Linked DNA regions of Homo sapiens: region 1 is linked to region 2. The links are contacts of gene promoters, found by promoter capture Hi-C in blood cells and fetal thymus (Javierre and others, 2016). All regions are on one chromosome and are shown on one strand. The core of a region is centred on a gene start or on the middle of the fragment in contact, and the rest is flanking DNA. Distances in the headings are between cores, read along the strand shown. Region 1 has its middle 2.5 kb from the start of TIMM10. Region 2 holds the start of OSBP (oxysterol binding protein).

Evidence for each region. Contacts are between HindIII fragments. The CHiCAGO score rates a contact against its expected background, and 5 or more counts as called.
Region 1: a contact is called between a fragment that was not itself captured here and the fragment with the promoter of OSBP in region 2, in 1 of 17 cell types (naive CD8 T cells). The highest score is 5.3, in naive CD8 T cells.

What each region holds. Positions count from the first base shown.
Region 1 is chr11:57,530,835-57,535,735 of GRCh38, reverse strand. No RefSeq gene overlaps it. Among named protein-coding and RNA genes, the nearest start is that of TIMM10, 2.5 kb to the right of the region's middle. RefSeq lists an enhancer at 4,803-4,901. The HindIII fragment of the contact is 4,634 bases long and covers 1-3,855 here.
Region 2 is chr11:59,614,032-59,619,096 of GRCh38, reverse strand. OSBP (oxysterol binding protein) reads left to right here and starts at 3,323. Exons shown (of 14, transcript NM_002556.3): 1 at 3,323-3,794. The coding sequence starts at 3,433. LOC101927226 (a long non-coding RNA gene) reads right to left here and starts at 3,143. Exons shown (of 3, transcript XR_001748237.2): 1 at 2,922-3,143. RefSeq lists an enhancer at 2,861-2,950 and silencers at 3,151-3,450, 3,471-3,690. The HindIII fragment of the contact is 16,614 bases long and covers 1-5,065 here.

The sequences.
Region 1 (4,901 bases), core at 289-2,788, 2.1 Mb after region 2:
AGACAAACTCAGTGACCCTGGTGCAGGATGGTGGTGGCTTGGACCACAGTATCAGCCATGGAGGTAAGAAGAAGTGATGGGAAACAGTAATAGTGCAGACAGTGATTAAGCCAGGGCCAGCTTTTTCTTCAAGTGAATAGAATGACGTAAGCCATTTCATCACAAGGGAGGTTACAGGAAACCTCTGTTTTTGTATTCTCTGCACCTCTCATGAGTGGTCAGGGCCCACTTGAAGTGATTCTAGATGAAAACTCTGCATCTCTTCTTCTGGGGCTGGGGTCCCACCCAAGAGGACAATACTGACCCACGATGAATGACAAATATACAACTCACCTTTGCAAGGTTGGGAAGGGGTAGAATGCAGGGTAGAATGAGGAGCCAGAGTTTCAGCATGGTGTTGACAGAGATCAGTAGCTTTGGATGACATATCTGGAGTCTAAGGATATCTTCAAAGTCTGAGGCTATCTAAACTGTCTTCTACAAGAAGCAATTCAACTGGGACCATTGGAGATTCCTACCTGTAGGTCTCCACATAGAGGAAAGACACAGTCTCATAGTAAATAATCATAATAACAATAGCATCATCATCAATAAGAGCAATGGTTTTCCAGAGGCTGAGCAGCTGGGGAGATGGAGAGTTGCTGTTCAATGGGTATACAATTTCAGTTATGCAAGATGAATAAGTTCTAGAAATCTGTGTACAATATGGTACATATAGTTAACAATACTATTTTGTGCACTTAAAAATTTGTTGGCCGGGCGCGGTGTATAAAGCACTTTGGGAGGCCAAGGCAGGTGGATCATGAGGTCAGGAGACTGAGACCATCCTGGCCAACATGGTGAAACCCCATCTCTACTAAAAACACAAAAATTAGCTGGGTGTGGTGGCATGCGCCTGTAGTCCCAGCTACTTGGGAGGCTGAGTCAGGAGAATCCCTTGAACCTGGGAGGCAGAGGCTGTAGTGAGCGGAGATCGTGCCACTATCCTCCAGTCTGGTGACAGAGCGAGACTCCGTTTAAAAAAATTTTTTTTGTTAAGCAGGGCCCAGTGCAGTGACTCATGCCTGTAATGCCAGTGCTTTGGGAGGCTGAGGCAGGAGGATCGCTTGAGGCCAGGAGTTTGAAACCAGCCTGGACAACATAGCAAGACCCTATCTCTACAAAAAATTTTAAAAACCACTCAGGCATGGTGGCTTGCGCCTGTAGTCCTAGCTATTCAGGAGGCTGAGATGGGAGGATTGCTTGAGCCCAGGAGTTTAAGCTAACAGTGAGCTATGATTGGGTCTCTGCACTCCAGGCTGAGCGACAGAGACCCTGTCTCAAGGAAAAAATAAATAAATAAAAGGGCTTTATCTGTTAGAGATAAAAATAGATGAAGAAAATATGGACAAATGTTAACAATTCCTAAGTCCTGGTGATGAATATATGGAAGCTCAATGTCCTGTTCTCTCTGCTTTTCTGTATGTTTTAAATATTCCATCTGGGCATGGGGTGGCTCATGCCTGTAATCCCAGCACTTTGAGAGGCCAAGACAGGAGGATTGTTTGAGCCCAGGAGTTTGAAACCAGCCTGGGAAACATGATGAGACCCTATCTCTTAAAAAAAAAAATTAGCCAGGCATGGTGGCTCATGCCTCTAGTTCCAGCTACTTAGGAGGCTGAGGTAAGAGGATTGCTTAAGCCAAGGAGTTCACGATTGCAGTGAGCACTGATCATACCATTGCACTCAAGCCTGGGTGACAAGGCAAGATCCTGCCTCAAAAATCCTAAGTAAAAATAAAAATAAATTTGCCCCAGTGAAAGTTTAAAAATGAAAAAGAATGAAAACAATGATTTATTTTTATTGAGCATCTACCATGGACTAGGTACTTTACTTACACAATCTTTTATATAAATATTTTTCTTTCTTTCTTTATGGCCAGCTCTTACTCATACTTGTATAATCTTATTTGTTTTCTTTTTTGTAGAGATTTTTAAAACTTTTTATTTAGAAATAATTATAGTTTCACAGGAAGTTGCATTAATAGTACAGAGAGGTCCTGTACGCCCTTTACCAACTTCCACTAAAGGTTAAATCTAACATAACTATATTCAATATCAAAGCCAGATAATTTATATTGGTACAATGTGTGTGTGTAGTAGTTCTATGACTTTTTTTTTCTTTCTTTTTTTTTTTTAGACCGAGTCTTGCTCTGTCGCCCAAGCTGGAGTGCAGTGGCACAATCTCGGCTCACTGCAACTTCTGCCTCCCGCCTCCCGGGTTCAAGCGATTCTCCTGTCTCGCCCTCCTGAGTAGCTGGGACTATAGGCGCATGCCACCACACCCGGCTGATTTTTTTTATTTTAGTAGAGACGGGGTTTCACCATGTTAACCAGGATGGTCTCGATCTCCTGACCTCGTGATCCACCCGCCTCGGCCTCCCAAAGTGTTGGGATTACAGGTGTGAGCCACCGCGCCTGGCTTTTTTTTTTTTTTTGAGACGGAGTCTCACTCTGTCGCCTGGGCTGGAGTGCAGTGGCACGATCTCGGCTCACTGCAACCTCCACCTCCCGGGTTCAAACGATTCTCCTGCCTCAGGCTCCTGAGTAGCTGGGGTTACAGGTGCCCGCCACTACCCCCAGCTAATTTTTTGTATTTTTAGTAGAGACGGAGTTTCACCAACAAGGCTGGTCTCGAACTCCTACCTTGTGATTCGCTCGCCTGGGCCTCCCACAGTGCTGGGATTACAGGCGTGAGCCACCGCACCCTGCCAGTTCTATGACATCTTATCACCTGTGTAGATTCTTGTAACCACCACCACAATCAGGATACAGAATTATCCATCAACACAAAGATCTCTCTTGTGCTACCCTTTACAGGTACACTTCTATCTCCCCATCAACCCTAACACTAGACAATCAGAAATCTCTTCTCCATCTCTATAATTTTGTGATTTTGAGAATGTTACTTAAATGAAATCATACAGTATGCAACCTTTCATAAGGCCCAGTAGATATTGCAAGATTCCTCTTGTAAGAAACCATCTCCTTTTCCCACGCAGTTTCTTAACTTTCCATAATGTTTCTTTTTTGCGGGGAGTGGGGGGTCGGAGTTTCACTCTTGTTGCCCAGGCTGGAGTGCAATGGTGCGATCTTGGCTCACTGCAACCTCTGCCTCCCGGGTTCAAGTGTTTCTCCTGCCTTAGCCTCCTGCTTAGCCTCTTGAGTAGCTGGGATTACAAGCACCCGTCACCACACCGGGCTACTTTTTTGTATTTTTAGTAGAGATGGGGTTTCACCAAGTTGGCCAGGCTGGTCTCGAACTCCTGACCTCAGGTGATCCACCCACCTCAGCCTCCCAAAGTGCTGGGATTACAGGCGTGAGCCACTGCACCCGGCCAATGTTGACTATATTTTCAAAGGCAAAAACCAAGGCAAGATATGTCCATCTGTACAAGAGTATCATAGCAGCATTATTGCATAATAGGCAAAAACTGGAAACAATCCAAACATCCACCAACGGGAGAATGGATAGATGAATTGTGGCATACTCATACAATCAAACACTAGACAGCAATAAAACAGAAGGAATAACAGATGCACACAACAATATGGAGGAAATCTTACAGGTACATTGAGCTAAAGAAGTCAGGCACAAAATAGAAAATAATGTATAATTCCATTTACACGAAGTTCAAGAACAAGGAAAACTAATTGATGGTGATAGAGGTCAGAATAGTGGTTAACTTCGAGAGGGGGTATTGATGGGGAAGGAACACAAGATAACTTTTTGGGGTGCAGGAAGTATTTTATATCTTGATCTGGATGGCGGTTATACAAATGTACATATATAGATACATATATATTTAATTAAGCTTAACATTCGTGTATTTTATGCACTTTATGAATGTTATACCCCAATCTTTAAAAATCAGGGCACAAGTTTGGCAAAGATGAGTCTTCAAAGCAGTAGAAAGGTCAATTGTTTAAAATTAGGATGGTCTTGGACAATTAGGGAAGCTTATGATGACCACACAGAAAATGTCTAGCCCACCTTTTCCAATGGGCAATGTGCCCTTGCGTCATTAATTTACATCTTGTAAATTTATTTTACCAGGAAATTGTGTGACAAATCAAGGGACTGAGTATTGTTTCCTTGTTTCCTTCTTTTTAGTGGGGAATGAGTGAATGGTGCAGTTTGAAGAACACATTAAGTCTTGAAAGTTGGAAAGTTCACCAGTACCCTTCTTTCCCTCACCCAAGATTAGCCCTGGTGGCAGCCGAAATTGCTTTTATTATCTCTTTGTGGCTGAGGACCTCTAACTGTTGAAGAAAACATATTTTACACGTCTTGTCTTTCTGCGAACAGGAAGCCTATCTCGCTTATCTTTGCAACCCCAGACGGGGCTTAGTGTGACCTACACACAGCAGTAATCGCACAACGTCCCGTGGAGCACTGCTTCTCAAATTTGGCTGTACATACGAATCACCTGGGGAATTTTAAATTGTATTGCTGCCTGAGGAATTTTAAACTGTACTCCCAGAGATTCTGATTTAATTGAAATGAGGTGAGTCCTGGGCACTGGGATGTTTAAAAACGTTCCAGGTGATTTTAACGCGAAACAAAAACAGAACCGCTGTTTGGGGGCGTTCTTCCTTCTCCACGCCTGATTTGCGCACAGGAGTCGGCTGTCTGGAACGGGGGTGAGGTTCACAGGTGTCTGTCGCCACGCCTCTTCCTACAGAACCAATAAACTGAAGCCGCTCGGTGACATCCCAAAGGACTTGAATTCTGATCGGGCTGCAGACGCTCTGCACCCCGCCCAAGCTTCTATGGTACTTTGGTGTCCTCTCTAGCACTGGCAAGTCGCCTTCCTCTTCGCCCGGCGCCAGCCGCTCCCTCTCTATGATCGCCGAGTTCCC
Region 2 (5,065 bases), core at 2,074-4,573:
GTGCCACTGTACTCCAGCCTAGGTGAGTGAGATTCTGTCTTAAAAAAAAAAAAGGACTGGAAAGGAGAGGTGACATCAGATTGTCATGGGTCTCATTTGCCAGGCCAAGAATTCTGTTCTGTATTCCGGAGGCAGTGTTAGGTAACAACAGTAGGTCAAACTAGCCTCTCAAAACCTTTTTTAAAATTATTATTCCAAATATACAATAAAAGTAGAAATAATAGTACAGTAAACACCTATATACTTACCACATAGATTTAACAATTAAGATTTTGCCATATTTGCTTGATAGGTAGGTAGGTAGGGAGGTAGACAGACAGACAGATGTGTATGTATGCATTTCAAAGTATTTATCTTTCCTTGGCTCTGTGTGTGTGTGTGTGTGTGTGTGTGTGTGTGTGTGTGTGTGAGAGAGAGATAGGGCCTCACTCTGTCAGGCTGGAGTGCAGTGGCACAATCACAGCTCACTGTAGCCTCGACCTCCTGGGCTCAATCAGTCCTCCCACCTCAGTCTCCCAAGTAGCTGGAACTACAGGCACAGGCCTCCATGCCCAGCTAATTTTTTTGTTTTGTTTTGTTTTGCTTTTGTTTTTAGTAGAGACAGGTTTATTTATGTTGCCCAGACTGGTCTCTTATCTTTCTTTTTTGCTGAACCATTTCAAAGAGAGTTACGGATATCATAACTCTTCACTCCTACGTTTCTCCAAGTTGTAAAGATGTTTTCCCCCATGTCCAGCATACCATTATTACAATGAACAAATGTAATAACTAACAACATCTGATACCAGTCCATTTTCAAATTTCCCCAATTGTCTCAAAAATGTCTAAAAGCCTGCTTTTTCAGAACCAGAATCCAATTAAGCATTTGATTGTATCTCTTTAAGTTTTTTTTCAAATTTAGAACAATCACCCCTGACCATTTTTATGACATTGATTTTCCTTGATCTTTATGTCTTATCTTCTATAAAATAGTTGTCTTATAGAATGCTTCACGTTCTTGATTTATCTGATTATCTCCTTGGGGTTATGGTTCAACTGGTTCCTCCAGCCCAGTAAACTGGAGTTTAGATCCAAAGCCTTGATTAGATTAACTTTCAGTATTTTGGCAAGAAAACACCATTAAGTGATGCTGTATACTTTATGCTGCAGCACACTGGGAACTTCATAAAAATGTTGGTTGTCCAAGGGTTACTGATACACATTGGATAACTGGGTTAAGGTGGGGACTGCCAGATCTCCCCATTGTAAAAGTATGTTTCTCCTTTGTGATGGCAAGTAACCTGTGAGATGTGTTTGGCAACACAACTCACATGTTTGTAGCTATCTACAGTTTATCAAACACATTCAAACGCACTTAATCACAACAGCATCCCTGTGAGGTTTTATTCCTGTTTAACATAAGTGAAAACTGAGACTTGGAGTGCTTAAATAATTTTCTCAAAGTAATAGACCCAGTAAGTAGCAAAAGCAGGACTCAAGCCTAAATGGATTAACTCTAGCTCAGTTAAAAAAAAAATTAATCCCAAATAGCCTACATCTAATAGCAGATTTTATTTTGCTCTACACATTCAGAGAAATTCACTAGTAATGAGCTATACAAATGATCCCTGATAGTAAAAATTGCAGATTTTTAAAGAGTATTCTCTCTCCAGAATTCAATAAATACTTCGCTTCTTTTGAAACGATTTTCTTAAAAAGGATACTTTAATTTATTGACACTGGGAAGCACATTGGCAAAGAAAGTCAATTTCTTTTACAGTATCTAATAGCTATTTCTATTGCCTGTTCAAACTAGCAAAATGTAACAGATGCTAGATTCCCTAAAGTACGGCGCTTTAGGTTACATTTGCAACAATAGCTTACATCTAAATGTTACATTAGTTACTGAATTTGTAATCTTCACAAATGTGTGAATAGTCAGTTGATCAAAAATAACGATTTCCTGCTACAAGAGAACGCATAGCAGAAAATGTTCCCAACACAAAGATAATGTTTGAGATGATGGATATCCCAATTACACTGATTTGATAATTATACATTGAATACATGTATCACAATATCAGATGTATCCCTGAAAATATGTACAACTATATCAGTTTAAAGATATAAAAAAAATTTTCTGTCCAAAGTTAAATATGTACAACTACGATATATCAGTTTAAAGATACAAAAAATAATAATTTTCTGTTCAAAGTTAAGCATATACATGGCACCTATGATGCTAAAACCAAGGGCCTTTAGGTCTGGAAGAGACACATAAAGTCAGGTCCTCGCGAATCTACTTCTGAAGGGGACAGAATCGGTATAGGCATATGACAGTCTAGAATCAAGACACAAGGGGTGTGGAGCGATAAAGAGCAAACAGGGAAGGGAACTAGGGGGACCATGGATCCAGGAAGGGGCTGGAAAAGCTACTTCTGGGCACCCCTGGAATCTGGGTATCCAGCTTCGAGTTAGAAGGGGGTCCTTCAAGAGAGCCTCAGGCGGGGGCTGACTGCCGAGAGTTACTCTGTCCTCCAGGTTCTTCCTAACAAGAAGCTACGAAGTTCTTATTCAGAAAAACGGAACACGACATCACACCCACGTGAAAAAAACGCTTTTAAGAGGCCAAGTCACTTTCACCTCCCACCAACTTGCCAAAGGCTGAAAGCAGGCGGACACGCCCCCAAGCGCTCTTCTCCGATTTCATTGGTTGCCCCGGCCTGCTCCTCATTAGGTCTCTCTCACTGGTCAGCAATGCCGCTTTCACAGCCAATTCTCAGAACCAATCATCTCCAACTATTGCCCCGCCTCTCCACCACGTGAGTGGCATAGGTGCCAACCAATAAAAAAAGAAAATAAGGATGTAAAGACGAGACTCCTTCCCTTTTTCCTCAACTCGTTCAGTAAATGGTAGAAAAGGTGGAGCAGCTGATACCAACCACCAATCCATGAGGGCGGAAAAGGATGATGAGAAGAGCGATGGGAGGGGGTGACGTGGCAGTGACAGGCGCATAAACTGAAATGAATGGCGGAAACAGCAGCCAATCGGCGATCAGATTGGCCGGGCATTCCGCATTCTCCCGTCCTCCCTGAGCGCTGGAAACTTCAGGAAAGCACCAATGAGCTTCCCCAAAAGTCTGATTGGCCTTTATCTGAACCAATCAAAGGTGGGTCTGGCGGACGCGTCCCACCCCAGGCTCTCACTGGGCGCTGTAGAATGACAGGCCCGAGAGAAATGCCAATATCCGCGGGGTCTTCCTCAAGTGACACTCAGCGGCACCAATCGACGTCCTTCTTCCCGGCGGCCGAGCCCTCCTCCCCGCGGCTGGCCGGGCGGGGCGGGGACGCTGCGCGGCGGTGGCTGATGCGGTAGCCGTGTGGGGCGCTCCGGGCGGCGACGGCGGCTCTCGTAGGCGGTTCCGGTCTTGTATCTCCAGGCGGCGGCGGCTCATGGCGGCGACGGAGCTGAGAGGAGTGGTGGGGCCAGGCCCGGCAGCCATTGCAGCACTTGGCGGCGGCGGCGCCGGTCCCCCAGTGGTGGGAGGAGGCGGCGGCCGCGGAGATGCGGGGCCAGGCTCCGGGGCCGCGTCAGGGACGGTGGTCGCGGCGGCGGCGGGAGGCCCGGGCCCGGGGGCCGGGGGAGTGGCGGCGGCTGGCCCGGCCCCTGCGCCGCCGACTGGGGGCTCGGGCGGCTCGGGCGCTGGGGGTTCGGGCTCGGCTCGAGAGGGCTGGCTCTTCAAATGGACCAATTATATCAAAGGCTACCAGCGGCGATGGTTCGTGCTGAGCAACGGGCTCCTGAGCTACTACAGGTAACTGCTTCCGGGGCGCTGTCGCTCACCTTGCCTCCCCCATATCTGCCAACAGTCCCAGCTCCGGCATTACCGCCAGCCGGCACCGCAGCCAGGGTTGCCCCAGGCCCCTTTTCGTCATCTGTGCGGATTGACAGCCCAGGGGTCGGAGCCCACTGTCACGAAAGTGAAAAGCCCCTGGACGTACACCTCCCCTCCCCTCGGGTTACCCACTCTTGGTGCCTTATCTTCCCTTCGCTCCCGGCCTTTCCAGTCATTAGTCGTTTGGAGAGCGTCTGTGCTTCCATTGTATTTCCACCAGCACATGGGTGCAATTATTAATTCTGCAAGCAAGGCACTGGTGTAGGTACTAAGGGAACACATGCAGCAGAACAAACCCGAGGCACTCCTCCCAAGGAACTTACAGTGGAAGTCCCAAGTTGTAGCTGTCAGTGCCCAGTCTCCAAAACTCAAGGTTATTCGTAGCTCTGGATGTACCCGTCCTTGCTCCCTTCACATTCAGACATAAGGGCATCACACACACAGGGTGGCTTCGGTATTCCGTCCCCTTTCTGCCTTATCTCTCCAAGACTTTGCATGTGCTTTGGCCTCTGGACAGCCCAGAATGGAGATGTGCACCCCAGTGCTGCTTTTATTTTTGCTTGCCCCACCTCCTCCCGTGGAAATGATTAAGTGTTTTATCTGGCATTTCTGTGATTTTTTGGTTAGTTAGGATTAACTTTTATTAAAAGAAGAATCCATGTCTTTGGTGTGATTACTTCTGTTCAACAAGGTTTATTTTGGACTGTTTAATATATATTTATGGTGACTCATAACCTGGCCATCACATGGCACGCTTTTGGGCTAAAAAGGATAGAGGAGTTAAGATAGGTGATTTGGGGACAGGGCGTAAACATTTCCTGAGGGCTGGACAATGTGTCTAGGTGTTTTATATACAGTATTTCATTATAGTATTTTGTTGACTCCCAACAACAACCCTAGGAGTTGGGAAATATTCCCATCTTACTGATGAGGAAAACAGACTTAGCATGGGCAACTTTCCCAAGGTTTTTGAGCAGCTGGGATTTGAAACTACTTCTGTTCACACTAATCTAACCTAAAACTCAGGTTAGTGTGAAATGAATCGGTCAGTTACAGAGATAATTGCTTATCAATAGCAAGTAATTTTATGGATCATGCTTACTATGTGTATTTTATGCAAAAAGTATAAAAGTCTCCTTTAAGGGATATTTTGCTTAATGACATTCCAATTGAAATATTTTTTTCCAGAG